7 separate regions of the Homo sapiens genome follow, and all the other regions are linked to region 3. The links are contacts of gene promoters, found by promoter capture Hi-C in human tissues and cell types (Jung and others, 2019). All regions are on one chromosome and are shown on one strand. The core of a region is centred on a gene start or on the middle of the fragment in contact, and the rest is flanking DNA. Distances in the headings are between cores, read along the strand shown.

Region 1 (3,788 bases), core at 669-3,168, 460 kb before region 3:
ATCTGACAAACTCTTGCTCAGCCCACGTGGCCCAGTTTAAATGTGCTCTGTGCATTCCATCATCTAGTGCTTACCACATGATCATAAATCCCACTGGTGTATGTGTGTGTCTTTCCCAAGTTGGAGTGGGAGTGCCTTTGACATGGGACTGTGTCTTTCCCTTTCGGCATCTTGTATCTTCCCCAGCATCTCTGGCTCTCCAAAGCCCCCAGTAAATGTTTGAGTAAGTGAAACATGCAGAAGACATGAAGATTGTTAAGTAACAAATACTCAGCAGAAAGGGCTGTTAATTTTAAAAAAAGAAGAAAAAGAAAAGAACATCAGATATTCTAAGACAAGTATTTGTAGAGGGAATCACTAAAAGCTTTCAGTTTTGAAAGCAAATATTTAATTTAGGCTCCCCCTTCTGTGTGCTTACAAATGGCACTAAATTCAGTATAATGCTTAATCTACATTTTGAGATTTACTATGGGACTCATGGACTTTAAGAAAAAAATGTAGTTCATTGTAAATGCCTACATTTCACAGTCGTTCGTTTCTTTTAACACACACAATTGGATTGACAAAGGTAATGACTTCCTAGCTAGCCATATTCAAAAGAAATGTCAAAAATTTAAATTTATAAAGCTCTCTGTGAAATGTTGTGATGCCCCAATCAAATGACCCTCCTGATCTTGCCCGGCACCCTTTCCCTCTTGGCTGCTGGCGCCTTCCTGTCTCATTGCCAAGGACAAGCCACGTCTGCATGTCTCTATCCCACCCCTCACCACTTAGAATTCTTGAAACCTCTGGGGAGGCTGACCAAGAAGGACAGAGGACCCTATATTTGGGCTTCTGGAACCTAAGTGCCCCAGGGCTCAGAGCTCCTATTAGTGTTATTTCACATTTACTACAAGTTTAAAAAAAAAAACACACAACGGTGATGATGACGGTGATTTTTGTGTCTTGTCCATGAATCACACAATATTATTCTAGGGGGAAACGTACCCTGATTTCAAACAACTCATCTAAAAGTACAGATTTTGGAACATGACCTACATGTTTACAGTGCCACATGAGACTACACTCAGACTCATGGACTTTTTTCCTTTTTCAATTACTAACTGCTTTAGTCCTCTAAACGTGGATTCTTCTTTTTTTTTTTTTTTTAAACCAATACTGGGTCTAACTCTGTGGCCCAAGCTGGAGTGCAGTGGCACACTCATAGCTCACTGTAACCTCTAACTCCTGATCTCAAGTGATCCTTCCTCCTTGGCCTCTCAAGTAGCTAGGACTACAGAAACATGCCACCATGCCTGGCTTATTTATTATTTATTTATTTATTTATTTATTTATTTATTTATTTATTTATTTATTTATGGTAGAGATGAGGTTTCACTATGTTTCCCAGGCTGGTCTCCAACTCTTGGACTCAAGTGATCCTCCCACCTCAGCCTTCCAAAGTGCCGGGATTACAGGTGCCTGGCTCTAAACATGGATTCGTTAAAAGCTTGCCCTATTTCTTTTTTTTTTTTTTATTATACTTTAAGTTTTAGGGTACATGTGCACATTGTGCAGGTTAGTTACATATGTATACATGTGCCATGCTGGTGCGCTGCACCCACTAACTCGTCATAAACATGGTTTGTGTTTGCAATAGTGCACTCCTCATTTTATGCTGACTCTGATGGGAATGTAGGACTCAATTGCTGAAGTTGTCATTACAGCAGACTTTCCTGGAGGCCTTTGTTGTTTGTCAGGTTGCCTTCTCCAAAAGGGGACAGTTTGCCCATGTGGGATGTCCTGCCCCAAGCATTTCTAACTGCTCTTCCATCTCTGTCCTCCCTCTGCAGGCTGGCCTTGGGTGACCCTCTCTGTCCTGGGATTCCTGTACTGCTACTCCCACGTGGGCATTGCCTGGGCCCAGACCTACGCCACGGACTAATGCTGTTGGGCCCAGGCCAGTCCTTGTTGCTGGCCTCCAAGGCAAATAGTGCTTCACCCTGACCTCTCACTCCAGGACAGCCTCTAAGGGATTTGATCTGCTCATCTTCAGTTGAATGCCCTCACTCCAAGACTGGATGCTGGATCTCATAGAAAATTCACAGCCAGACAATCTTCTAATCTGGAGTCTTTGAGATCTTCTACCCCAACTCATCATTTTCCTATTGAGGAAACGGGTCCAGGGCAGTCGTGTGTCTTACCCAGCTACACAGGGTGACATTTTGGTCTAGAACCTAGTCTCATGAGCCCTTTGCATTCTTTCCCCTTAAGCAAGAATAGAATGTAGTGGAAATTTATTGATTGAGACACAGAAATCCTGATTAGTGATAGGCCTGTCTTCTGGGCAATATTTCTAAAATATTTGAGTGACATTGATGTTTAAGTGACCTCCTTCATCACATCCTGCAGTATCTCCAGAAGCAGCACTAGGGTTTGAGTTTCATGCTTCAGCCCCTCTGTAGGAATGAGACCAAGCCACAGCTGTCTTTTGAATTACGTAGTCGAAGAAGACGGTAGCAGCCCTGTAGCATTCTAAGGCATCTATACCCAAGGAGTCCTGTGATCTGAGCTTCAGCAGGGTGATCTACATTTGGGTGCTTGTTTCTGAGATTTGCAGAGAAGTATAACATGGTAGTTCCTCTACCTTACAGTTAATCGTTTCTTAATAAAGAAGCAGAATTTAGAAACCACAGGATAGTGTACCCACAGATGGGTGTTATCAAGGCCAGTCATGAGGATGGTGTCCTGGAGTCTTGTCCACCCTCTCCATACAAGTCTCAAAAGTCATCCTCCTACTCAGTGATTCACGTTTAGTGGTTTATATTATTAAGGTTTGATTCAAACAGAGCCTTTTCTGTCCTGTAGATAATCTACATGTTTGTAGAATTATTTTGAATATGTTTGAGGAAAATGTTTAAAATCTAAATATACTCACATAACTTGATTATTCACTCCTCTGAAAAGATGCTGGATAGGCTACCAAAGTTCCCAAGTGGTAGATAATTCAGAAGACTTGTTTGAATTTGGATTTTTTTTTTTTTTGGAGTGGGGAAGGGTATAAAGGAGGCTTAAAATTTGAATCCATAATATATCTAATTACAGGAGAATTTACAACATCTCAAGTACGTAAATTAAGTTGTCATTGAGTGAAAGGTTCACTTGGACCTAGTGCTGCCTCCTGTTTATTACATAGCATGGCCCTTATGTCTTGAGTTGAGGTTATCATCTCAATGAGGCTTTAGCTCCTAGAGTACAGGACCATTTTGTTGATTGTCTTTCTTCATAGCTTCTCTGCTTGGCAAAGAGATGGGAGGGGGCCAGATACTGACTACCTGGGGTAGGCACATTATGTGTTAAAGCAAGACAGAGGCCAGAGAGGGGCAGGTAGACCTGCATAGCAGCAGCCTCAGCAGCTGTCTTGGTAAAGGAGAGAGAGAGACATGGGGCCAGTAATTCCGGGGTGCTCAGAAGTTTTAGGAGGGGATGAGCCTCAGGGAGGAGTGAGCACCTAAATGAACGCAGTAAACCTTCATGGACCAACAGTGATTGAGGATTTGTGGGCAGCCAGAGGGAGTCTGACTGAAGTTTACTTGGAAAGAAAGGGCTTGCTAAGAAAAAAGGGAGTAAAAATGATGATAGGGAAGTGTCTAATGTATGTGCACATATAAGTAATACAAAAGTTTTGAGCTCTTCCAAGTATACCATTTATATACAAACAAATAGGTTTATTCATTCATTAAACTACTTTGGAAGCGTCAGTGGATATATTTGAAAGTGGTAATCCTGAATCTCTTTTAAACTATTAT
Region 2 (3,590 bases), core at 802-3,301, 430 kb before region 3:
TGCATTTTCCAGACTTTTATTATGTTTTAAATTTTCTGCTATCTTATTTTTTAAAACTCAAAAGCTCTTTGCTTCTTTTGAATTTTTAAATAGCATCCTGTTTTGTTTCATGGATATATGGACTTTATGTCTTTAATGTAAGCATTTTTCTTTTGATCCTTGCATTATCTCTACAGTCACTGGGTTGCATGAGGTAGAGCTGTGGAGCTGGAAATCTTACTATCCCATATAAGGACTTTAAGCCAACCCCCTGAATTTTAGGCTGCAGTTTACCTCCTTCTCACCCCATGGTGATTTGTGCTTCTAAGGACAGAGCTTTCTTGGGCTTTGCAAGAGAAAAGAAAAAAGGCTCCTTTTCCATTTTAGCCCCTTCTGCATCTGTGCTGCAGCTTCTTCCACTTTACTACATCAGTTACCTTTCCTCCGTCTGCCTTCCGTCTTTCAAAATTACTTATCTGCTACTTTCTCTTCTCCCAAGTTTTAACAAATTAGTCCTTCTAGGTTTCTATATTTTAAAAAATTGTTTTTATATCATTTCATTGGGTTTTCTGGAAAGTGAAGAAATAGATGTTTGTGGCTAATCTCCCACATTTAACACAATTTTATTATTTTAATTAATTTTTAAAATATATACCAGAAGCCCTTTCTAACTAACTAAGGATCCAGAAGTCATAAAATAAAAATAAATTTGGGTCCATAAAAATCCCTTCTGCATGGCACAACATGTGCAAGTTAAAAGACAAATGGCAAAATGGGAAAATACTTGTAATTTATGACAAAAACTGCTCCTAAAAATAATAAAAGACACCAATATTCCTATTTTTAGAATAGATAAGAGAGATCACAGAAAAGGAAATTTAAATGACTGGTAAGCATATGAAAAAATACCACTCTTGAAATGTATCAGATTGCTCAAAATCCAGAAGTCTCACCCCACACTTTGATAATAGGATGTGGGGAAACAAGCCTTCTCATACATCACTGGCAAGTTTAACCCTTTTGGATATCAGATTTCTCATCTATAAAATAGAGCTAGTAACAGTGCCTACCTGCTTTATACAGTAATTGCAAGGACTAAAAGAAATAATGCATTTAAAGTGCCTAACAAACACACAACTAGTACACATTTAATAAATGCTACTTATTAACATATATTTGCTTGTGTCATTATGTTTTTCTTCAATGATAATGCTACAAAAGACAAGATTAAATGCTGCCTTCCTAACTAACTCTCCCATAAGATCTCTGAGGACAGAGACTATATTTCTGTGTCCCTTCCAGGGCCCTGCATAGAGCAGGACACAAAGAAGTGTGTGGTCATGAAACACCTGATCTTTGAGGGACAGTATCCATTTGTATGTAAAATCTGTAATCTCGGGCTTGTGCTTAGTTTCTAATTAATTATACTGTGAATTGGCCCAGCCCCAGAGCAGGAGGGCATAGAAGGAACAGCTAGAATTCAGGCACCAGCAAGGGGAATGTCAGTATTCAAAGATGGTGCTCCATGATAAAGTGCAGCGTGCACCCCCATAGGCCAAGTGCTCTACGAGAGACAAGACACACCTCTCCAGGACTGTCACCAGTGCCCAGCTGTTAGTGTAAGAAAACAATGCCAGGGCAAGGAGAGGTGCCCTGGGCCAGAGCAGACATCACAATTCAATCTCCCTGGGTCAAGGGTGGGGAAAGCTTCTGGTGCCACCTGAGAACATGTGTCGAAGGCAGCAGCTCTTCCTGCCCCTACTGTGAAGTCTGAAGGAAGGGAGGGGGCTGAGGAGCAGTACAATGCTCTGCTGTCTCAATAGCAGGAGGGTCCTTGACTTCCTGGCCATTTCAGCGTTTAGGTTATCAACCTCATTTCTAATAACAATCGCCACGCCTAGAAGATTAGTAGGCCTATCACAGCCTTTCCTTCAATTCACTCCTATGTCAACTCCTTTGTTTCCTCTGATAACAAAGGCAGAGGAGTCCAAGGGTGATGCTAAAACCGGAAGGGACCTGGTCTAGTGCTCTGTCTTCAGGCCAGTGACTTTCTAAACTATCCCATGAAGACAGCCATTACTTCTGCCATTATTAGCAATACGAAAATTGACATTTGTTCCTACTTTGTGGTTGACAGAAAGCCAGCACACACATTATCTCATTTGGGATCACATATATGGGGCAAGTGTCCTTATTTTGTATAAATGAGATGACAGAGGCTGAGAGAGACAAGATCCATGGCTCTTCCAAACCCAAATGCTATTCTCCTTTTGAAGGTTTAGAGTTAAAAGTCCATATATACCTCAGTAGCCAAACCTGTATCTAATCATCTAACAGTAAATTTATAAACCTACACATAATTTGGTCTTTTATTTAAACCCAGTTCCACTGGCTCACTCTTTCACACACATGGAGAGCAACTGGTCAATACCATTCCTCCCTACACACACTTTGCAGAGCCAGGGACGGCAAATGATTCATCTAGAAACCTCATTGCTGGACTGCAAGCCCAAGCTCTCCTTCCCTTCTCTGGGGTTTGTGGGGTTGAAGGTTGGGAGGGTTGGGTGGAGGTAGGGGGTCCTTGGTCTGAATTTTCCAGGGCAGGAAATGGGGAGAGGAAGGTAGGGAGGTGGGGCGGCCCCTGCGCAGGAGACAAGAATTGATCTCACTTGCATTACCAACTTTGAAGAAAGAAAGACACATTTCATCCTCCCTCCCCTCTACCACTCCCTGCCAGGCTGAGGGTGGGGAAAAGAGCCGAGGGCACCCGCTGAGAAGTATCTGAAATAGGCAAGACCTGCCAGCTTCTCCAGAGGAGGCCAGTTTGCAGGCCTGCAGATTCTCATTCGTCCACTTGCTCAAGCCCCTGAGTTGCTGACAAAGCTGGCAGAGAAGAACTGCAGGCCTCACAAGTCTCTCCTCCCTGGGGGTTTAACATTCACCTAGTGTAACACATGGAGGTCAGACAGAGAAAACTAACTTCCAGAGAGGTGTAATTTTAGGCTAACCAAACAGCATCCATCCAAGCAACAGTGATAGAGTCTTGGGGCTGGCTGTCCCAGGAGCTGGGGAGCAGAATTCTGGTCCCATTGAAGCCAGAGGGTCGACCCTGGCCCAGAGGTAGAACCCATTTGGCTTTAGTTTCCATAGCCAAAAAAGAAAAGAGGCTAAAACCACTCTAAATCTGACACCATTGCTTTGAAGATATGATAAAAGGAAAGTGCCCAGATGATGGATCTCAGGGCTTTCAACTCTGAGGTCTCCTGATCTCTCCTTGGTCTTCCCTCCTCCTATGGGATCAGCATTTCCCCCATGCTCTGTAGCTCTAAGTCAGGGTCTCCTCTTGTGATCAGCCATCTCTCCTTCCTTACCTCCCCCACTGCCTAGTTATGCTGTGTGTCTCCCCAGTATCTGGGCACCTCGATCCTAATCCCACTCTGCTTCTACACCAGGCCAGCCCTAAACAGTGTTCCTCTGACTATAATCATAATCAGCAGCAGCACTGAATGCTAAGAGCCAGGTGATATTTGCATATTGTATTTTACTTTACCCTTGCAATGAGCCTAACGTAGGTGTTATCACTGGCCCCATTTGACAGATGAAGGGATTGA
Region 3 (3,837 bases), core at 1,288-3,787:
CAATATCTTTAAATAGACTTTTTCCACCACAGTAAAATAATATAATGCATGCAGATATTGTGATATTTCTAGGAGTTCACATTTTTTCTTCCATTTGTGTTCAGGAAATATTATAAAAGGGATCACCTTTTAAACATTGAGTCCCATATTTCAAGATGAGAACCATTTATTCTGAAATAATAATTTTAAAAATTCATCCAACTCTCCCAAGATGCTTCATTTTTTTTGATGCTATTCATTTGATTGGTTAATTGAAATCAACCTGCTGAAACTGGTGTTGAAATGACAATGCCCATCCTAAAAATATTCCCAGTGACTTATTCTATTCACATTCTATGATTACAGAGGGAAAGTGGCTCTAATAAGATCAACTAAAATAGACAGTATTCTGCCTTCACAGCTCCAAGATTCTTAAGGTTCCCTTAAAACCCAAGGCATCTTGTGACTTTTACATGTAAGTTTCTCTTCCTGCTCCCTCCACTCAAAAACATACACAGTATACATTAGGTACTGGGTTTCCCCTCTAACTTACAGGGCACTGCCTCTTTACTGAAAAATAGAATTGTCATTGATATTTATGAGAAAGTTGGTGTCACTGACAATGGGATAACCAAATTTGCAAGATTGTCTCCATACCCCTTAATAGTCCAATAAAAATAGCAATAATAGCACAGTAACTCTTATTTTATTTAAAAATAAATGAACAACTCCAGCTTTTTTATGGCAAAACAGTTCATTGTGGCTGTTCACATAGCAATTATCATCCCCTTGCATCCCCAGGTAATGACTGTGACCTTGACCTAAAAGCCACCTTAGTTTGAATAAGGAAGACCTTGAAAGGAAAGGTGACTGACCAGAAACACTCTTAAGAGGCACACAATAAAGAAATGATCATTTCTAAGAAAGTACTTAAATAATACGTGATTATTTGCTATGCTAGTTGATGTGTTTCATTATAAGATAAACTTAAATCACTGTTTAATTAAAGAGTGTTTATTAGTAGCATAAGTCACTTTTCATGCCCTTCCCCTGAATCCCTAACTAAATCCAAACAGAAGCTCATCATTTTACACAGAAGCTCCTTAGACTCTGAAATCGTGATATTTACACATTATTAAAACCCATTTCCTAAGTTAGCTCCTCATGTCTCCCTGGTAGAAGAATGTCATCTGTTTCTGGAAGGGGTGGGGTGGGGGCTCTAGGAGTCTGCAAAGAGCATCTTATGCTTGGCTATCTTTCAATATAGCCATTTGATGAACTCGTGCGCTGCGCCTTCCAACTGCCAGGACTCCTAGTCGCTCTGCAAGTGCTTAGTTGGGGTCTCTCCTCTGTTAAGTCCGAAAGGCGTTTGGAATTCTTCCTTTCCATCCCCGCTCCTAGGACTCTCGCCTCTCAAGGCTTCATGCTACCGTCGATCTTAATGCCACAAGGAAACAGATGAGTGCTGATTGTCAGTTTATTGGGTAATGGATCTATTTATAGGTTTGGTGAGATTGGGAATTTATAGGTGAGCAACACTTAAGGGTGGCATAAAACCGTTGTGGGTTTGGAAGAGGGGAAATATAACAGGTTTGTACCTGTGACCATTTAGTTCGCTCTGCACCTGTGCCCTCCACTTCCCACCTGACGCCAGGAAAACCATCTGCCCCTCACTTCGAAGGTGAGCCTTAACTTCACCTAGAAAGTGGTGGGTGGGTGAAGGGGTGGAATCAGGCCGCCGAGAGCACGTCCCGACACCTCGGACTTTTCAGTTGCAGGGATGGAAGGTGGAGGCAGCCGGATCCTCCCATTCTGAGGCAGCGGGGACCTGGAGTTGCCCGTCTCTACTGCTGGCTCTCCCTGGGGAGAGGCGGCGCCTCTGGGAGCAGCCCGGGAGCCCCAGAGCCTTCGCGGAAGGGTGGGCAGTGCCGATGGGGCGCGCGCTGCCGCTCCGGCTGCAGCCAGCTTTCCATCACTTTTCCCAGTACTTTGCTCAGCAGCTGTCACGCATCCTTGGAGATAAGACCGAGAGGGCGCTAGAAAGGCCCAAAAGGCGTCCCCAGAAGAGCTCTCCTGTTAGGATGGGGACCCATCAGACCCCGCCCCGCCCTGCCCACCTTTCTCTGCCTCGGGGAGGCTGCCCTGGGTGCCCGCGCCGCGGCTCCTTAGCAGAGCTCGCGGGTTCTGCTGCATCTGCTGGCTCCGAGCGGCGAGAGGTTCTGCAATAAAGGCACGGATAAAACGCCCGGGTAATCGAAATCCGAATGCACCTCTTACCATTGGACCGCCGAACAATATTCTCCAGAAACGTGTTTTGAGGGGCCACTAGTCCCCTCCTGCCCCCAGCCATGGTCATCCTCCCAGCAGCTCGGGGTCCGGCGGGCGTCCTGGCGCGGCTTCTTACGACAGCAGGAAACTGGCCTCGGGGCCCGCACGCAGTCCCGGCTCGAAGCGCCCCATGCGCCCGGCGGGGATCCGCAGGCAGGGCTGGCGGCTCCCTCTGGCTGCTACCCTCGCGCCCTCTTCGCGCCTCCCTCCCTGCGGCCCGCCTCGCAGTGCACTCGCGCCGGCCTCGGCTAGCGGCAGCCGCCTCCGGGTGGGCGGAGGGAGCAGCGGCGCCTGGGCCGGCGGCGCCCCCTACCGGGCTCGTGCCCCACCGCCGGCCTGCGGGAGACCAAGCTGGGGGGCTCCCGCAGAGGCAGGGAAGTGGCGGGCGGCCGTGGACCAAGGCTGGGACGGCAGCGCCACCCTCTGGGTTCAGCCGGGAAATGTGTTCAGGATGTGCCATGGGCTGGGTGGAGAGGAGGGCATTGTGAGCAGCTTTCAGGGCGGATTCACCCCCAACAAGTCTTAGGGGAGCGTGCTGATGTAACTCTCTTCCTTTGCTCTGTTTCAGGCCGGGGCCCCCGGGACCTGTGAGGCTCTGGGAACACCTTCTTGCCTTCCTGTAAGGTTAGCCTGACTAGTGAAAGTTGCCCCACCTTGATTCTAGGCCAGTGTTTGAGCAGTAATTAATGAAGTCGTATTGCAATAGTGCAGATTTAGAGTGACTGGCAGATTCAGCTTCAGAAGAGTTGTCTTGGGTTGTTTTTACCGTAGACACAAATGCAGGCTCCTGATGTTTGGTATGATCAGTATCAAACTGCCTGACAAACATCAAAGGGGTGGACTTGTCTCTAAGGGCGAATGCTCAGGAGAGGGGCAGCATTAATTAAGCAACCGTGGCTTTGGCTTGAAGGGTAGTCTGTAGTGCAGAGGATACAGTTAGTTTTTACAGCTGACCCCTGGTATACGGAAGAACCACATACACCCAAGGTTTCTGGACAGGGGCTAAGACAACGGTCGTTTGTTCACTTATTTTGGGGGATTTCGACCCACACATAGTCTGTACCTGCCTTTTTACTATGTATCCCCAGTCGGTGCGGTGGGAGACTAAGCCTATGTCCCACAGGAGAAATGAATGGAGAGTTTACTAGTTTCAGACTGAGTCAACAGTCAACACAAAAATGTAAGAGAAAAAAAAACTAACCCTGAAAATTAATTGTCTGGGTTAGCCATCCTGACATATCCTAATGTATTGCAAAGACATCCTGTCTCAGTTAATTAATTTCAAAAACAGAAGAACTAATTCTTGCCCAGAAATCTCTCAGAGTTGCTGTGAAGATCAAGCAAGAATTATGTATGGGGACAGCACCTTAAATTGTAAAGTGCTGTGCCAAGGTCAGACGTCATTATTGGAGTGACTAAATAAATTGGGCCATTACGAATATCACCCTTTATCTCGTCTTGTGTAGAGACAAAGTAAACAGATTGCTGTTAGCAGAGAGTTGGATAAGACTGTCATAGGATTTGAAATGC
Region 4 (3,318 bases), core at 15-2,514, 330 kb before region 3:
TGCCAAGATGGTACAGAAAAATTCTGTGTACCCTTCACCCAGTTTCCCCCATTAATTACATCTTACAGCACAATATCAAGAACAGACTGATATTGCTATAAAGTATATGTATAGTTCTGTGTCATTTTATCACGTGTAGATTCATTTAACCAACACTACATTCAAAATACAGAATTCTTCTATCACCACAGAGATCTCCTTGTGCTTCCCCTTTATGGTCACGCTTCCCTCAGCAATCACAACCTTTTTCTCCTTTATTATAATTATGTCATTTTAAGAATGTTATAAAAGCCAGGCACAGTGGCTCATGCCTGTAATCCCAGCACTTTGGGAGGCCAAGGCGGGCAGATCACTTGAGGCCAGGAGTTTAAGACCAGCCTGGTCAACATGGCAAAGCCCTGTCTCTACTAAAAAAACAAACAAAAAAATTTAGCCAGGCATGGTGGCACATGCCTGTAGTCCCAGCAACTTGGAAGGCTAAGGCACAAGAATCACTTGAACCTGGGAGGTGCATGTTGCGTGAGCCAAGATTGTGCCACTGCACTCCAGCCTGGGTGGGTGACAAAGCGAGACTGTCTCAAAAAGATAAATAAATAAATAAATAATAATAATAATAATAATGTTACAGAAATGGAATCACACAGTATGTGACCTTTTGAGATTGTCTTTTTTAACTCATCAAAATCTTCCAAGTTGTTGCATGTTTCAATAGTTCCTTCCTTTTAGTTGATGAATACTATCCCATTGTATGGATGTACCACAACCATTTCTTCCAAGTAATCTTATTCAGTGTTAGCTGACATACTATGGGAGGCAAAAAAATAAGAGAGAAATGCATGGATCTAGAGATAAGGGAAGGACTGAGGACACAAATCCACCAAAAGAGAGTTATAAACAAGGATCAAAGAGTTCTCTGGAAAAGTACCAGGGAGTGGTGTCAATCTGAACAAAAGGAGCCGGACAAAAAGCAGACACCTGCTCTTCTAAGCTCATAGATAGCCTCATAACAATGCAGTTGAAGGTCCTGTCTCCTCCATGCCAATAGTGACATGAAGTGTGGTCAGAACTAACCATCCTCCCAGGAGATGGGCTAGTTGTCTTTTTCCAGTGAGTCTGACTCTAACTCAACAAGCCTATGTGGGCAGTCCTGCTTCAGCTCTGTTTTCTGATTCACAATGAACCAGGAGTCACAGGAAAAGAGTAGATGTGCCTCTTTTTAGGATGGATCCCAGAAAATTAATTTAATCTTGAGCCTAAAACAATAGTTACACCAAATCAATATAGTAAGAATAGCTCTTTTGTCCATGATCTGAGAGAACCAGGCAGCAGGTCAGACATCAAGCAGGGATGGACAACCATCATTTACAGCTCAGGGCTGCTCTTGTTCTAGGGTGCTTCTGAGGCATTCTGGAAGGTTAAGGGTCCTCAGGAGGCCCTTGCTCAATTACAATTACTATTATGAAATATTATTACATTAAAGGTGGATAATTATTGTCTCAATGCCCCTTCCTTAATTTTTTTTCCTTTTTCTTTTTTTAATAAAATAGCGACATGTTCTCACAATGTTGCCCAGGCTGGTCTCGAACTCCTGGCCTCAAGCAGTCCTCCCACCTCAGCCTCCCAAAGTGCTGGAATTACAGATGTGAGCTACCATGGCCAGCCCCTAATTTTATATGAAGGGGGATTACATGTTTTTCATGCACGTAACGTTTAATTTATATTGGTATCTTATATATAAAGCATTACACCTTAAATACTAAAAACCTAACTGGGAGAGAAGACATGTAAGTCCAGTTGTCACCTGAATAGATATATGAGTGTGATGTAGAGAGGAAGGGAGGGAGATTGTAACACCACTGTCAGGAAACTAAAAAAGCAAGAACGAACCTCCCAGTGCAGAAGGTGTTATGGATGCCTCCAAATGTGGATTCTTTGGGTCCTTCTATTTTCAGAAAGGAAGGAGACCTCCCCCAACCTCAAGGCAAAATGCTGATTTGGAGAAGAAGGGGTTTCTTTCATATTTCAGTGGTTTAGAGTTTATACTATATCACAGCGATTCCTACCCAGAAAGAAAGAAAGAAAAAAGATAGTATTCTCCAGCCCTTAATTAGAAATAGCTATATGGAATTTGGCTGGGGAGGTGGGGGAGGGAGGGAGGGTGTAGCAAAAACACATATCTTTATCAATTTCATTTTCTTAAATTTTTCCTGGAAGCTTCTGAACTGTGCCATTGCCATTTGTGTGAATCTTTCCTGTGAACTGAAAATGACAAGGTTCATAAATTTGGAAAGGAGAGCTTTATTTCTCATAAAGGATTGCAGCTTGCAGGGGGCTGTTCTGACAGGCTGGGAAGCATAGCCTCCAGCCAGAAACCAGAAGCAGACACTTCAAGAGGGAGAAGAATAAGACAAAGATGTATGGTGAATGGGGTGGCCAAATATATATATTAAATAAGCTATAGGAGGGACCATGAATATTCATAAAAAGAGAAACATGCATGTGAACAACTGAGTTTCATGCTTCCCCATGGGACCCATGTTCAAAAAATGGCAGCATTAGCATGAACCAAGGATGGAGTTTTTAAAGCAGAGTACATGAAAACCCTCACTGTGCATCCTCCATAGACTAGCCAGAACCACTCTGTAGTGAGTGGTCTCTTATCAGGAAGGAATCCAGTTCAGCTGTTTTGTGAAAATCACAAAAGGGAGGAGCAGCATCAGTGATTATCAGTGGTGGAGTCTTTCAAACGGGCTGGTTTCTGTTTAGTCTTAGGGAAGAAAGACTAAGGGCGTTTAGTGAGATAGGGGTTATAACAAAGCATGTTTAACCTCTCATCCTATTATGGCCAGGAACTCAGTTTCCAAGGCTTCTCTGAAGTCCCCTTGGCCAAGAGAAGGTCTGTTTAGTCAGTGAAGGGACTTAGAATTTTATTTCTAGTTCTCACTCTTCATCAGCAACCTAGGAAGTTTCTTCACTTATTTAGGTTAGAGCCCCTTATTCCTGCATCTCCTGTCTTCCTCTTCCTTGGTTTACCCCTTTCTCTCTTTTTTATGAGACATCTTCTAATAGCTTTCTGAAAAAAAGGATATATGGGAACAAAGTTTTTTGAGACCTAACATGTCTACTCTTATATTCAATTAATAGCTTAGCTTGGTGTAGAATTCTAAAGTGGAAATCATTTCTCTCTGGATTTTGGAAGCATTTCTCCAGCCTTATCTTGCTATTGAGAAGTCAGAACCAGTAGGATCCCTTGTCCTGCATATTATAACCTGTATTTTTTCTCTCTAGAAACGCTTTCTACAAGGTTCTGAAAATTCG
Region 5 (3,835 bases), core at 1,294-3,793, 280 kb before region 3:
AACGGGGCCTGTTGTGGGGTGGGGGGAGGGGGGAGAGATAGCATTAGGAGATATACCTAATGCTAAATGACGAGTTAATGGGTGCAGCACGCCAAGATGGCACATGTATACATATGTAACAAAGCTGCACGTTGTGCACATGTACCCTAAAACTTAAAGTATAATAATAATAAAATTTTAAAAAATAAATAAATAAAAATAAAGATATAATTGACATGTTAAATCTACAGAATAAAAAAGAATAAAATGTGGGAAAAAAAAAAGAAATTTTTTAGCATCTCCTTCGTGACCAAAATTACCATGAGCAAAATTAGATAGAATGTAACCATTCCCCTAGCTCTAAGTGTGCAGGTCAGAGATGAAGAGTGGAAGACTGAAAGGGTGGGCCAGATCCTGGAAGGCAACTGTCGTTTAAGATGAAAAACAGTGATAACTGCTGAGAAATCTCAGCCTTAAGTGTGTTGAAAGTTGATAATGTCCATCTATGTGGTGAACAATTTGTGAAACAAGACTGTCAAAGAGAGTTATAGGTTCTTGGAAGTAAGAGGCAACATCTTATGAATCTTAATACCTTCTAGATAGTTAAAGATAGTGTCTTATAGATAGTAATACCTTATAGGTAGTAGACATTCAATAAATGTTGTCTGAATTATGTTATTCAACATACCATATCTCTTTCCTGTCATTTTACAATTTAGAAAATGATTTGACACCAAGAATTGGGTACGTGAACCATTGAAATCTGCCAATGCTCACATTTCTCTTACTGACTGGTTGGTCACATGGCTACTTTCCTTGACCCTTGTCTTTATAAATTCTATTCAATTTAATTTGCATGTGAGTTGAGTTCTGTCAAGACTCAATAGTCCATGTTAACAATCTACGTTCTAGATCATTAGTGCAAGAGTGGACTCTAGCGTCTCACCCACATGCAGTCCTTTATATCACTGACATTACTGGCCTTCTATGATAAGCCCTATAACTAAAGTTGTTTTTTTCAGTGATGGAAGTTAATTTGCACTGAGCCATAAGTACCATCTTCTCTGTCCCATCTTTTGAATAACAGCATAAATCTGCGAGATAGTTGGTCAAGATAGAATCTTGGTCACGTGACATTTTTCTGTATGAAAAATAAATTAGGTTCTTATGAGGCCCAAGCATGAAATTTTGGCTTCATAATAATATACTATATATTTGACTTCATAATAACATCTTACCAACTGGGCCCCCATTTCAATTTTTTTTCTACTTTATGATTCTTCTCAAATAAACTACAGATTCCTTAATTGCATGTGTGGCAGAGCACATTATTAGGTGTTATAGAGGTTACAAAGGTAAAGAGTTAAGTGTCTTAGACCTTAAAAAGCTTAGAGTATAGCAGAGAAAGAAATGTACACAACTAATTACAATTCAAGGCAAAGTAAAATAACTTTAAGAGAAAAAAAGATTAAGTAGTACACTAAAAGGCAATGCAAGATTACTTCTAGATAGAAGGATATCAACTCCTTCTTTAAAGATGTGAGCATTGGAACCTGGCCTTACACATATACATACATGTGTATGTGTATTATGTGTGCATATTAAAATATACATATACTTGTACAGAATCCTATAAACATTCTACTATATGGATACAATTCAGACAAAATTAAAAACAACAGAATTCCCTCTAAGAATTTCTGTAAGGATTCATTTGGATTACCATTGCCTCCTTGGAGGATTTGAATTAGAATAGAGTTTGTCAAACCATGGTTTTAAGCCATGAGCCTTTTTTTGCGTGTGTGTGCTTTTCTTTCTTTCTTTTTTTTTTTTTTTTTGAGACGGAGTTTTGCTCTTTTTTGCCCAGACTGGAGTTCAATGGCATGATCTCAGCTCACTGCAACCTCCACCTCCCGGGTTCAAGCGATTCTCATGCCTCAGCCTCCTGGGTAGCTGGGATTACAAGCATGCACCACCACACCCAGCTAGTTTTGTATTTTTACCAGAGACGGGGTTTCTCCATGTTGGTTAGGCTGGTCTCAAATTCCCGACCTCAGGTGATCCGCCCACCTCAGCCTCCCAAAGTGCTGGGATTACAGGCATGAGCCACTGTGCCCAGCTGCCATGAGCCTTTTAATCAAGCAACAATTCAAATAGAAGTTCAATATGTAAAACAAAGAATAGCTACTTAGATGGGAGAAGAAGGAGCTCCATCTACCCCACCCCTTTCCCAAACTTGCCCACAGCCCAGGGTGGAAACTCCTTGAAAAGATGACCAATAAATCCCTTCCTGCTGTTACTGTCTGTGATTTAAGTGTAAGTCCATGGAGCACATGGTAAACCACAGCACTGTGTGTCTTAGAAGGAACAATAAATAATAATAAAATTTTAAAAAATAAATAAATAAAAATAAAGATATAATTGACATGTTAAATCTACAGAATAAAAAAGAATAAAATGTGGGGAAAAAAAAGAAAATTTTAGCATCTCCTTCGTGACCAAAATTATCATGAGCAAAACTAGATAGAATGTAACCATTCCCCTAGCTCTAAGTGTGCAGGTCACTTGCACACTTGCAGCTCTAAGTGCAAGGCTCATACATGAGCTGTGAAAGACACTGATTAGCAGGAAGAGATGAAGCAAATAATTAACTTTTATCTAAAAACATCTGGGGCCAGGTGCGGTGGCTCAGGCCTGTAATCCCATCCTTTTGGGAGGCTGAGGCAGATGGATCACTTGAGGTCAGGATTTAAGACCAGCCTAGCCAACATGGTGAAACCCAGTCTCTACTGAAGAAAAAAAAAATACCAAAAAAAAGTAGCTGGGCGTGGTGGCGCGCACCTGTAGCTCCAGCTACTCGGGAGGCTGAGGCATGAGAATCGCTTGAATCCGGGAGGCGGAGGTTGCAGTGAGTCGAGATCCTGTCACCGCACTCCAGCCTGGATGACAGAGTGAGACTCTGTCTCAAAAAGAAAAAATGTTTTTTAAAAAAGCATTTGGATCTGTGTTAAATGCAGAACCCAGAAATTAACTGCTGAATCCAAAGGGGGCTTTGGAGATGTGCAGGCCTATCACTCCTCCCACAGTTCTGCTAGCTTGGCCTTGGCAAAGCAAGAACTCTGGAGGGACTTTGGGGCACCAGCTCAGGCCTGACACAGCAGTCTCAACAGCAAGCCAAGAGGCAGAACAATGCCACTCTAACATCATGATTCACAGTGAGTGAAAGCCACAATAAAGCTTTTCATCAGAGGAAAGGGAAAATAGGCTTTGTTTATCAGCATCCTGGGGGAGATCAAAAGCCTACTTTCTAGAGCTTGTTCCAGATGTCTCTTCTACCTCTTTAGAGCCTACTGGCCTCCAACAGCCATGCTCAGTATCTCTCATTTCATGCACAAAAAGGTCATTTCAGGCACAGCAAGAGAGCAGGCAGCTCTCTGCATTCTCATGCTGCCAAATCAACCTTCTCACTCACCTAAAGAGCTGTTCAATATTTGTCTTCATGGCCCACGTATCCTCAGAAGACAAAGCCATGTGCTGTCTGCTCTGGGACACAGAAAAAGGAGTTAATCCAGCTTTCTCTCTGAGTTGACTAAATAATGCTAAATGATTCTCTCTGGTCACAGCACTGCCAGCCTTTGGAAAGTGATGACTCCTGAGCCCAAGAAGCTCCCAACTAATAGAGAACATGTTGTTGTCTCCCTCAAAGTGTTCTTGGTCTAGTGTGTTTGGGTACCTTGTTCTTTCACTTTCTCATTTCTTGAGCTAAGACATAACTATTACAGCCAAAATAACCTACTTCTATCATCCCAACAGTGTGGTAGGAAAGCTATGTTCTTAAAATAAATGTCACACGACA
Region 6 (3,600 bases), core at 658-3,157, 380 kb before region 3:
AGGTGCTTTTCTAACTGGAAGGCTGGACTTGGCTTTGTGGTGACTTGCCCATCCTCCCTGGCTGGACTGTCTCACCCCACAGCCTCCTGTCACCCTTGAGTCCTCCCTGTATTAGCCCTCTTGAACCAGGCTTCCCACTCCCCAGATTTATTCAGAACCTCAGGCCTGAAACCTCCACTTGGCCCTTCACACCCCACCTGTCCTACCTGCTCCCACTGCCCCAGGCTTTGGCCTTCTGGCTGTTTCCTGTTCACAGACTCTCCTTGCCCTGTCCACTTGGCTCTGCTCCGGCTTCCTCCTCTTGCCTTCCTGTACTGCCCCAGTTTGAATTCTCCCCAGGCTCTCCTGCTTTCGGTAGCCAGGTTTGGCCTCATTTTAGAGGCTTGGCTCTTGATACCCTGCAGTCCCTCGTCTTGCTCAAATGCCACCAGGGTCCCACTATGTCCACCCAGCCCCTCAAAAAGAATCCTAATAAGAAAGTTCTTCAGTTCCCTTGGCTGGATGGGAAAGCTACCTCAGGCCACCTCAGAGCCCAGGCAGGCTCACTGCCTGCAAACAGAGAGGCAGAAACATATAGAACTCCCAAGAGAGGCTTCTGGGAGAGATTTTACCTGAGCTTTTAAGTAAAAGGAGATAATGGATGGCCAGATTTTCACTAGAGAGAGAAAACCTTGTATGGGGGAAACCTAACAGCAAAGAACAGACAGCATGAGCAATACCCACAGGGCCCTAGTGGTAATGAACAGTTCTATATCATGCCCAAGTCCTCAGTGTCAGGGTGTTCAATCAGCAACACAGCATCACCTGGGCGCTTATTAGAAATGCAGAATTTTGACCCCTCTCCTGACCTACTGAATTGGAACCTACTTGGAACCTGATTTTTAACAAGATCCCAGATGATTTGTGTGCAGATTACAGGTTAAGAGACACCAGTTTATAGAAATAACTTGGGACATAGGCAACTTCCCTTGGCCACCTCTGTCAGTGGAATGTTGTGAGGACCCCTGCATGACAGGAGCCAAGGCTGCTCACTTTTTTTTTTTTTTTTTTGAGATGGAGCCTCGCTCTGTCATCCAGCCTAGAGTACAATGGCGTGATCTCATCTCATTGCGGCCTCCTCCTCCCAGGTTCAAGTGATTCTCATGCCTCAGCCTCCCGAGTAGCTGGGACTACAGGCACACACCACCATGCCTGGCTAATTTTTGTATTTTTAGTAGAGATGGGGTTTCATCATGCTGGCCAGGCTGGTCTCAAACTCCTGATCTCAGGTGATCTGCCCACCTCCGTCTCCCAAAGTGCTGGGATTACAGGCGTGAGCCGCCGCGTCCAGCTGGCTGCTTGCTATCTTACTGCAGGCACGTGGGCTGAAATGTGGGCAGCAGAAAGAGCATGGGATCTGGAATTGAGGATGTGACTTCAAGCTCTGATTTGATCACACACTCCCACATACCACAGTTTGCTCCTTTGAGCCTCAGATTCCCCAAATGGAAAAATAGGGATAATAACAATAATACCAACCTCATAAAGTTGTAGCAAGGATCCGATAAGATAAAATATGTGAAAGTGCCTTGTCCAAAGTAAAGCAGAGTACAGACGCTAACTGTGCTATTTGTGTCCTGTACACACACGAGGACTTGCACACATTTTAGAGTTCTAAGCCAGGAAGGTCACCCAGCCTGTTACTTCAATAGACTCAGCTGCATCGAAAACATTTAAAGGCAGCAACAAGTAGGTCCTGATGAGTTTATCTGGGGCACAAAGGGAAAAATCAGACATAATTTTGGGTCTGGTAGAAACTGAGCCCAGGACAAGGTTTAAGAATCTAACTGCTCATCCCAAATCTTCAGTTTCATAAGCCAAGTCACAGGAAGGAATCTTGGTCTTCTAATTATACTGTCAAATCTCTTAAGCTGTAGGTGGTAGCTTTTTTGGCTGGGCCAGGATGGGATTACAGGGGAATCAAAAGATAAAGATAGGAATTACAAGTCAAGCAGGGACAGGTGGCAGGGAATGAGCCAATGTAAGATGGGATTTCGGAAGCCTCTTTCCAATGCCATCTTGTTTAAGACATTTGTATCTTACACTCTCCAGAGCAAACTGGATGGGCAGATACTATTAGAATCCAAGTTTGGGATGACTCTTAAAAATATGAGAGCTCATCTAATGTTCTCATTTTACAATGAACACAATTGAGGTTAAGAACTTGCCCTGGTGGCAAATTTGGAGTAGAATCCAAGTTCTGGCACCTAGTCCAGGGCAACAGGTACTTCTCTTAAGAGACACTGATCAATTCAGTCACTTAAGAGCCTCCAGAGGAAGAATAATGGACTGGTGCTAAGCTGGTAGGAGTTTCCTAGGCAGAGCTTTCTGGAGGAGGCATCTTTGAGTTGTGGTTCTATAGAGAGGAGAGTTATGTCTGGGGTTCCAGTACTCCCAGGCCCTCTTTGATGTGGTGTAGGAAACTGAGAGGGTCATCTACATAGACTGAGTTACAGTTTGGGCTGAGGTGGAGCAGAAGAGAGAGAAGGTCAGGAGGCTGATGAGCTGGACGCAAGCTCAGAAATCACATTGATGAGGCTGCATTTGACAGAAGAGCTGGGAGGGCTGTGCAGGGACAGAGCCAGGACTAGATGCCCATCCTCACACGAAGAAAGCAGTTTTAGTGGCTGTATGACAAATGACTAGAAGAAGATAGAGCCTGGACATAAAATTCAATTTTAAGAATTTTAGCAAGAGTCAGAAGAGGCTAAGTGTGGAGTAGGGCAACCAATGATCCCAGTTTGCCTGGGACTAAGGGGTTTCCCAGGATGCAAGGCTTTAAGTGCTAACGTTAGGACAGTTCCAGGCAAAGTGAGACAGCTAGTCACCCTGGTGTAGTGGGTAGGGGCCACTGGGGTAGCGGCCTGGCTGGACCTGAGGGTGCCTGCTGCTGAGAGGTAGGAGAAGAGGGGGGCTGAAAATGTGAGGGTGGAATCCTCACTAACTTTTGACTTGAAGTGCAAAGGCTGAGTGGAAATTTAGCTGTGGTTCCAGTAGCTTAAATTATTGTTTACAACATTGAGGCACTGTATGAAGAAATGCAAGAAATAAAAATATGAATAAAGCCCCCAAATCCAGGAGAAATATTAGACATGTGCTGAACCATATAAGAAACCATAGGCGATACCTGCTCTAAAGGACAAGCAGAACACCATGGAAACACAAATTAGAGAAGAGAGAGATTCCAGCTGGATGTAGACTGAGGAAGGCTGCAAGCAGAAAACAGAATCTGAGCTGGATTTTGAAGGCCAGATTGGGTTTTGATGGGAGGAGGTAAGGTAGTGTGAAGGACATGCCGAAGTGAGTACACTGCATGTTCTGTAACTATTGTAGCCCAGTGGGGCAAAGGTATCAGGCAAAAGAATGAAGATACAATCTGAACTGCAACTGGAAATACAAGTTTATAGAAGATCCCTGGGTCTGGATTTTACTCCAAGGCTGTAAGGAATCATCGAAGATTTTAGAACAAGAAAAGGACAGAGATCAGAGCTTGAAAGTCAACAAAAGGTTGTTCTTAACCAGCTATAATGAAGGAGAGTCCATAACTCCTTGGGTATCACT
Region 7 (3,797 bases), core at 1,049-3,548, 410 kb before region 3:
GGCTTTGCAAACAGGATTTTCAGACATTCAGAATCTTTGTACTTTATCAAGTTCTAGCTATGTGCTTGAGGGTTCAGTTGTAGTTTGACTTCAGGGTCTCATAATAGCTTCTGGGACCCACAGTGAGAATACCGACTCACAAAGGGCACTCGTGGCCAATGTCACCCTCATACCTCATCTGTTCAGACAGATGCGTCCTGCTGCCAATTCCAATGAATGCTTCAGTTAATAGTCCTCATTTTCTAGGGCAACATCATCAGGATTGAAACATCTTCTGCTGGCTGCTATGTGGAACAGAACATCCCATCTCCCTGACTTCTCCTGTCATGAGGAAATTATTGAAAATAATTTTCCCTATTAAAATGCCTGTTTTCCTGAGGGTAGGAGCCACCATGGACACTTTAGCTGAGACATCTTAGTTGAGACATAAAAGCTTGGCTAATCAGAACCATCAGCTTGTCACTGCCATTCAATTAACCCTTTCTTCTATGTCAGACTGTGGCTTCTAACTGCATTAAGACCTTCCTGGCTAGCATTCCCTCTTGTGAAACTGCTGTTGATAATGGCATCCCAATGCCCATAGCCCGTAGCTGCACTACACAGACACATTTCACTGTCAGAATTACCTATGAAAGTATTTCTGAACCCCTAGATGTGACACATTAGGCTCCATCTTACAAGGAGCTTTAAGGTATTCATTCAGTTTTTTATACATTAATTCAAGATACATTTACTGAGCACCCTCCCTATTCTAGATACTGCCCTATACACCAGACAAAAAACACCAAGTAATGTCCAGACTCAGATCTAAGAAAGCTTCCAGTCTTGTGTGAAAGCTTGAAACATGGAAGGCAATTATAACCCAATGGGTGGCTAAATGATGGACCTGCCTATGGCTCTCTCAACTCAGTCTGGGGGTAGGGGGTGATCAGGGAAGCCCTCTTGGACAAGAAGAAGCTTGAATGGAGGAAATCTGCACAGAGGTATGAACGATGAACAGGCTTTTAATGCTGTAGAAGCTCATTTCTGCAGGGCAGCTAAGACTATACCTGTCTCATTCAAAGGTTTCAAATGGCTCTCAAGGCTCTTCAGAAAATGGCTTTCTAGCCCCTTCTCCTTCCCAGTCCCCCGTGCTGAGCCACTACTCTGTTTCCCAACCAGCCCTTACATATCCATATATTTCCCTTCTTGTTAGGGCTGTGTTCTTTGTCAGGAATGTCCATTATCCTCTGTCTGTTGGGCTTCTCCTCACCCTTCAAGACCCAGTACAAATGTCACTTTCTCTGCAAAGACTTCCCTACCTCTGACAATCACAGGACTTGTGACATTATATTATAGTTATCTGTGTGCCTATCTGAGCCACAAGCTTCTGGAGGACAAGACTGCATCTTAGTCATATTCACATTCCCAGAGTTTGGCAGATAGAAAGTGTATTATATGCCTTCTTTTTGACAAAGGAATGGAAGAACAAAGTAACACATCAAAAATTTATAAGAACATTTTCATCCATTTCAATGCAAAAGGAGGTAGAGTCTCCCCGGAAGAGGCTACAAATTGGGGTAAATGAACAGGATCCTGGTATCAGCTCCTGACAAGCCAAGGAGCAGCACTTGCCCAACTTCTGAAAAGGAAGTTATTTGGTGACTCGCTGATGTGCAATAACACCATAAGCAAGCAGAAACAAATGGGGAGACTTGGGAGCAAATTGATTATTCATGAATCCAATTACAACTAATAGCTCAAGAAAGACCCCTCTCAGATGCCTATAATAATTCATGCAGAGGACAGAAGGAACCCTGCCAGGTTGGCATCTGGGTCCTGAAGTGTCAGGGAGCTTGGACAGGTATGTAGCAAATCATCTCAGGGAGGCAAGCTCAACTTCTTAGACTCAATGCTGACAGGACCAGGGTCATGCTCAGGTCCCCTTGGGCTAGTTCACAGCCCAGAGACAAATTTTCTGTGGACAGAGCCTGTGCTCCCTTACCTAAGCCAGTCACCCACAACATTTATCTTATTTTAAAGTCAGCAACCTCAGATGCAGGATCAGGTAATTAAGCAGAGGGATTTAATAAAACCTTTTTATTAAATGAGCAGTGTGTGAGTTCTCCTGCTCACATACTGTAGTGAACCCCAAACAGGGTGAGTCAAAAACATGCCTAAGTGGTTCAGAACCATGGACAGTTCCCCGGCGGGGGTGGGGTGGACTACTCTCCTCTATTCATTTAAAAGTGCAGGTTCCAGCTTAGAAGTGCCTGCTTACTCAACCCTCAATAGAGAGGGGTGGGTATGGAAACCCTTCCCATGTCTTTTATTATGAATGTAGTGAGAAACCAGAATGAGCTCAGGGAGGTGGAGGCCATCCCTTTGTCACCACTCTCAGTCTGGCTGACCCTACTTGGGCATGGGTTAAAAAGTCAACAATTGCTAATGATGATGAATGATTACTTATGTCTTGATGGTGTGTGGGATTAGGAAGAGCACAAATGTCTTTTCTTACTCTATCACGAGTTCCTCATACTGTAGGAGAAACTATTCTGGCCACAGACAGAGATGTGTATTTCAATGGGAGAAAAAGAGAAGTATGTAGAAGTATATACTTTGGTATTAAAGCCCCATATTTGATCAGCAAGGCAAAGGCATATTCCCACTAAGTCTCCTTCATGGTAAGTATTTGACAGTTCTAATGTGCTCATAGAGGCTTATCTTACTCAATAAGCCCACAGGAGAAAGGCCTCTGCTTAAAATATATACATATTTTGATAGCGATACAGTCTCCCTATGTTGCCTAGTCTGGTCTTGAACTCCTGGCCTCAAGAAATCCTCCACCTTGGCCTCCTAAAGAGCTGAGATTACAGGTGTGAGCCACCAAAGCCTGGTCCTCTGGTTAACTTTTCATTGTCCACGAGGAAATAGTGGGTAGGGTGTGTTTAACTATAGGCATAGGAGCAGGATGAGGTATTCACAATCTAAAAAAAATGTATCTAGATGTTCTGCCATTAGATACACAAAAGATTACCCTTCTCTCAAACAAAACAAGCTCCTTTTAATAAAGGAATCAGGGAGTTTGGTCCTTTGGAAATAATTTAATAAGCTTTCTCTGGAATCCAGTTTCAGCTAACATGCAAGAACCAGGCACATTTTCATCCCCTTTCCAATATTCAAAACAGTCCACAAGGCACTCATGGAATAGGAAGGAGTAAAGCTTTAAAAGAAAAAACGCTGAAGCACATCTCCTGTCTCTGCATTGTCTGCACAGCTAATCTCAAGGGATCTCAGTAATCCTCCAAACAAAAGAGACTGATCTAAACTACAAAGCAACTGTGAATGAACCACTGAATCAGGACAAATGAGACCAGGAGGTTCTAACCCTGTGTTCTCTATGGTCAGCAGACAACCTGCACCAGAATCAATTGATACTTGTTAAAATGCAGACTCCTAGGGAACATCAAATATCTACTGAATCTTAATCTCTCGGGTTGTTATCAGAACCTACATTCTAAAATAGGCTCTTCCTGAAGGAAGGTTGGTAAACAACTGCTCTAAGCCATAATGAATGTAGGCTTAGGAGTCTGAAGACTCTTGGCCCCCTTGTCTGAGTTCTGATGAGTTGTGTGTTTTCAGAATGTCATTGTGCCCTCTTTAGTGACAATCTTGGAGCCTGAGACCACATGAAAGAGACTGTGAGTTACTTTCATTTCCAGTGCCTGGCACATAAGGAATTCTTAATGAATGGTGAATAGTGAAATGAATAAATAGATGATAATGAGAGACCACACAGTAGGACAGGTGATAAAAAG

What was found. The method cuts DNA at HindIII sites, captures the fragments that hold promoters and counts their contacts. A contact is called where the count stands out against the background at its distance.
Region 1: a contact is called between a fragment that was not itself captured here and the fragment with the promoter of KCNH1 in region 3, in 1 of the 25 tissues and cell types used here (dorsolateral prefrontal cortex).
Region 2: a contact is called between a fragment that was not itself captured here and the fragment with the promoter of KCNH1 in region 3, in 1 of the 25 tissues and cell types used here (H1 embryonic stem cells).
Region 4: a contact is called between a fragment that was not itself captured here and the fragment with the promoter of KCNH1 in region 3, in 2 of the 25 tissues and cell types used here (dorsolateral prefrontal cortex and hippocampus).
Region 5: a contact is called between a fragment that was not itself captured here and the fragment with the promoter of KCNH1 in region 3, in 1 of the 25 tissues and cell types used here (mesendoderm cells).
Region 6: a contact is called between a fragment that was not itself captured here and the fragment with the promoter of KCNH1 in region 3, in 1 of the 25 tissues and cell types used here (dorsolateral prefrontal cortex).
Region 7: a fragment that was not itself captured here is called in contact with the fragment with the promoter of KCNH1 in region 3 in 2 of the 25 tissues and cell types used here (bladder and heart right ventricle).

The regions. Positions count from the first base shown.
Region 1 is chr1:210,672,456-210,676,243 of GRCh38, forward strand. HHAT (hedgehog acyltransferase) reads left to right here. Exons shown (of 12, transcript NM_018194.6): 12 at 1,833-3,788. The coding sequence ends at 1,924. Among named protein-coding and RNA genes, the nearest start is that of HHAT, 350 kb to the left of the region's middle. The HindIII fragment of the contact is 4,839 bases long and covers 1-3,788 here.
Region 2 is chr1:210,702,447-210,706,036 of GRCh38, forward strand. The region is part of intron 10 of KCNH1 (potassium voltage-gated channel subfamily H member 1); the gene reads right to left. Among named protein-coding and RNA genes, the nearest start is that of HHAT, 380 kb to the left of the region's middle. The HindIII fragment of the contact is 4,546 bases long and covers 1-3,590 here.
Region 3 is chr1:211,131,611-211,135,447 of GRCh38, forward strand. KCNH1 (potassium voltage-gated channel subfamily H member 1) reads right to left here and starts at 2,538. Exons shown (of 11, transcript NM_172362.3): 1 at 2,257-2,538. The coding sequence starts at 2,335. It overlaps KCNH1-IT1 (KCNH1 intronic transcript 1), which reads right to left and starts at 1,764. Exons shown (of 2, transcript NR_046784.1): 1 at 1,578-1,764; 2 at 669-1,416. RefSeq lists silencers at 328-528, 1,755-1,945, 2,440-2,719. The HindIII fragment of the contact is 15,184 bases long and covers 1-3,837 here.
Region 4 is chr1:210,807,034-210,810,351 of GRCh38, forward strand. All of the region lies in intron 7 of KCNH1 (potassium voltage-gated channel subfamily H member 1), which reads right to left. Among named protein-coding and RNA genes, the nearest start is that of KCNH1-IT1, 320 kb to the right of the region's middle. The HindIII fragment of the contact is 3,548 bases long and covers 1-3,038 here.
Region 5 is chr1:210,847,566-210,851,400 of GRCh38, forward strand. All of the region lies in intron 7 of KCNH1 (potassium voltage-gated channel subfamily H member 1), which reads right to left. Among named protein-coding and RNA genes, the nearest start is that of KCNH1-IT1, 280 kb to the right of the region's middle. The HindIII fragment of the contact is 5,917 bases long and covers 1-3,835 here.
Region 6 is chr1:210,748,711-210,752,310 of GRCh38, forward strand. The region is part of intron 10 of KCNH1 (potassium voltage-gated channel subfamily H member 1); the gene reads right to left. All of the region lies in intron 3 of LOC105372901 (a long non-coding RNA gene), which reads left to right. Among named protein-coding and RNA genes, the nearest start is that of KCNH1-IT1, 380 kb to the right of the region's middle. The HindIII fragment of the contact is 7,340 bases long and covers 1-3,600 here.
Region 7 is chr1:210,724,621-210,728,417 of GRCh38, forward strand. The region is part of intron 10 of KCNH1 (potassium voltage-gated channel subfamily H member 1); the gene reads right to left. The region is part of intron 2 of LOC105372901 (a long non-coding RNA gene); the gene reads left to right. Among named protein-coding and RNA genes, the nearest start is that of HHAT, 400 kb to the left of the region's middle. RefSeq lists a silencer at 2,074-2,274. The HindIII fragment of the contact is 3,349 bases long and covers 625-3,797 here.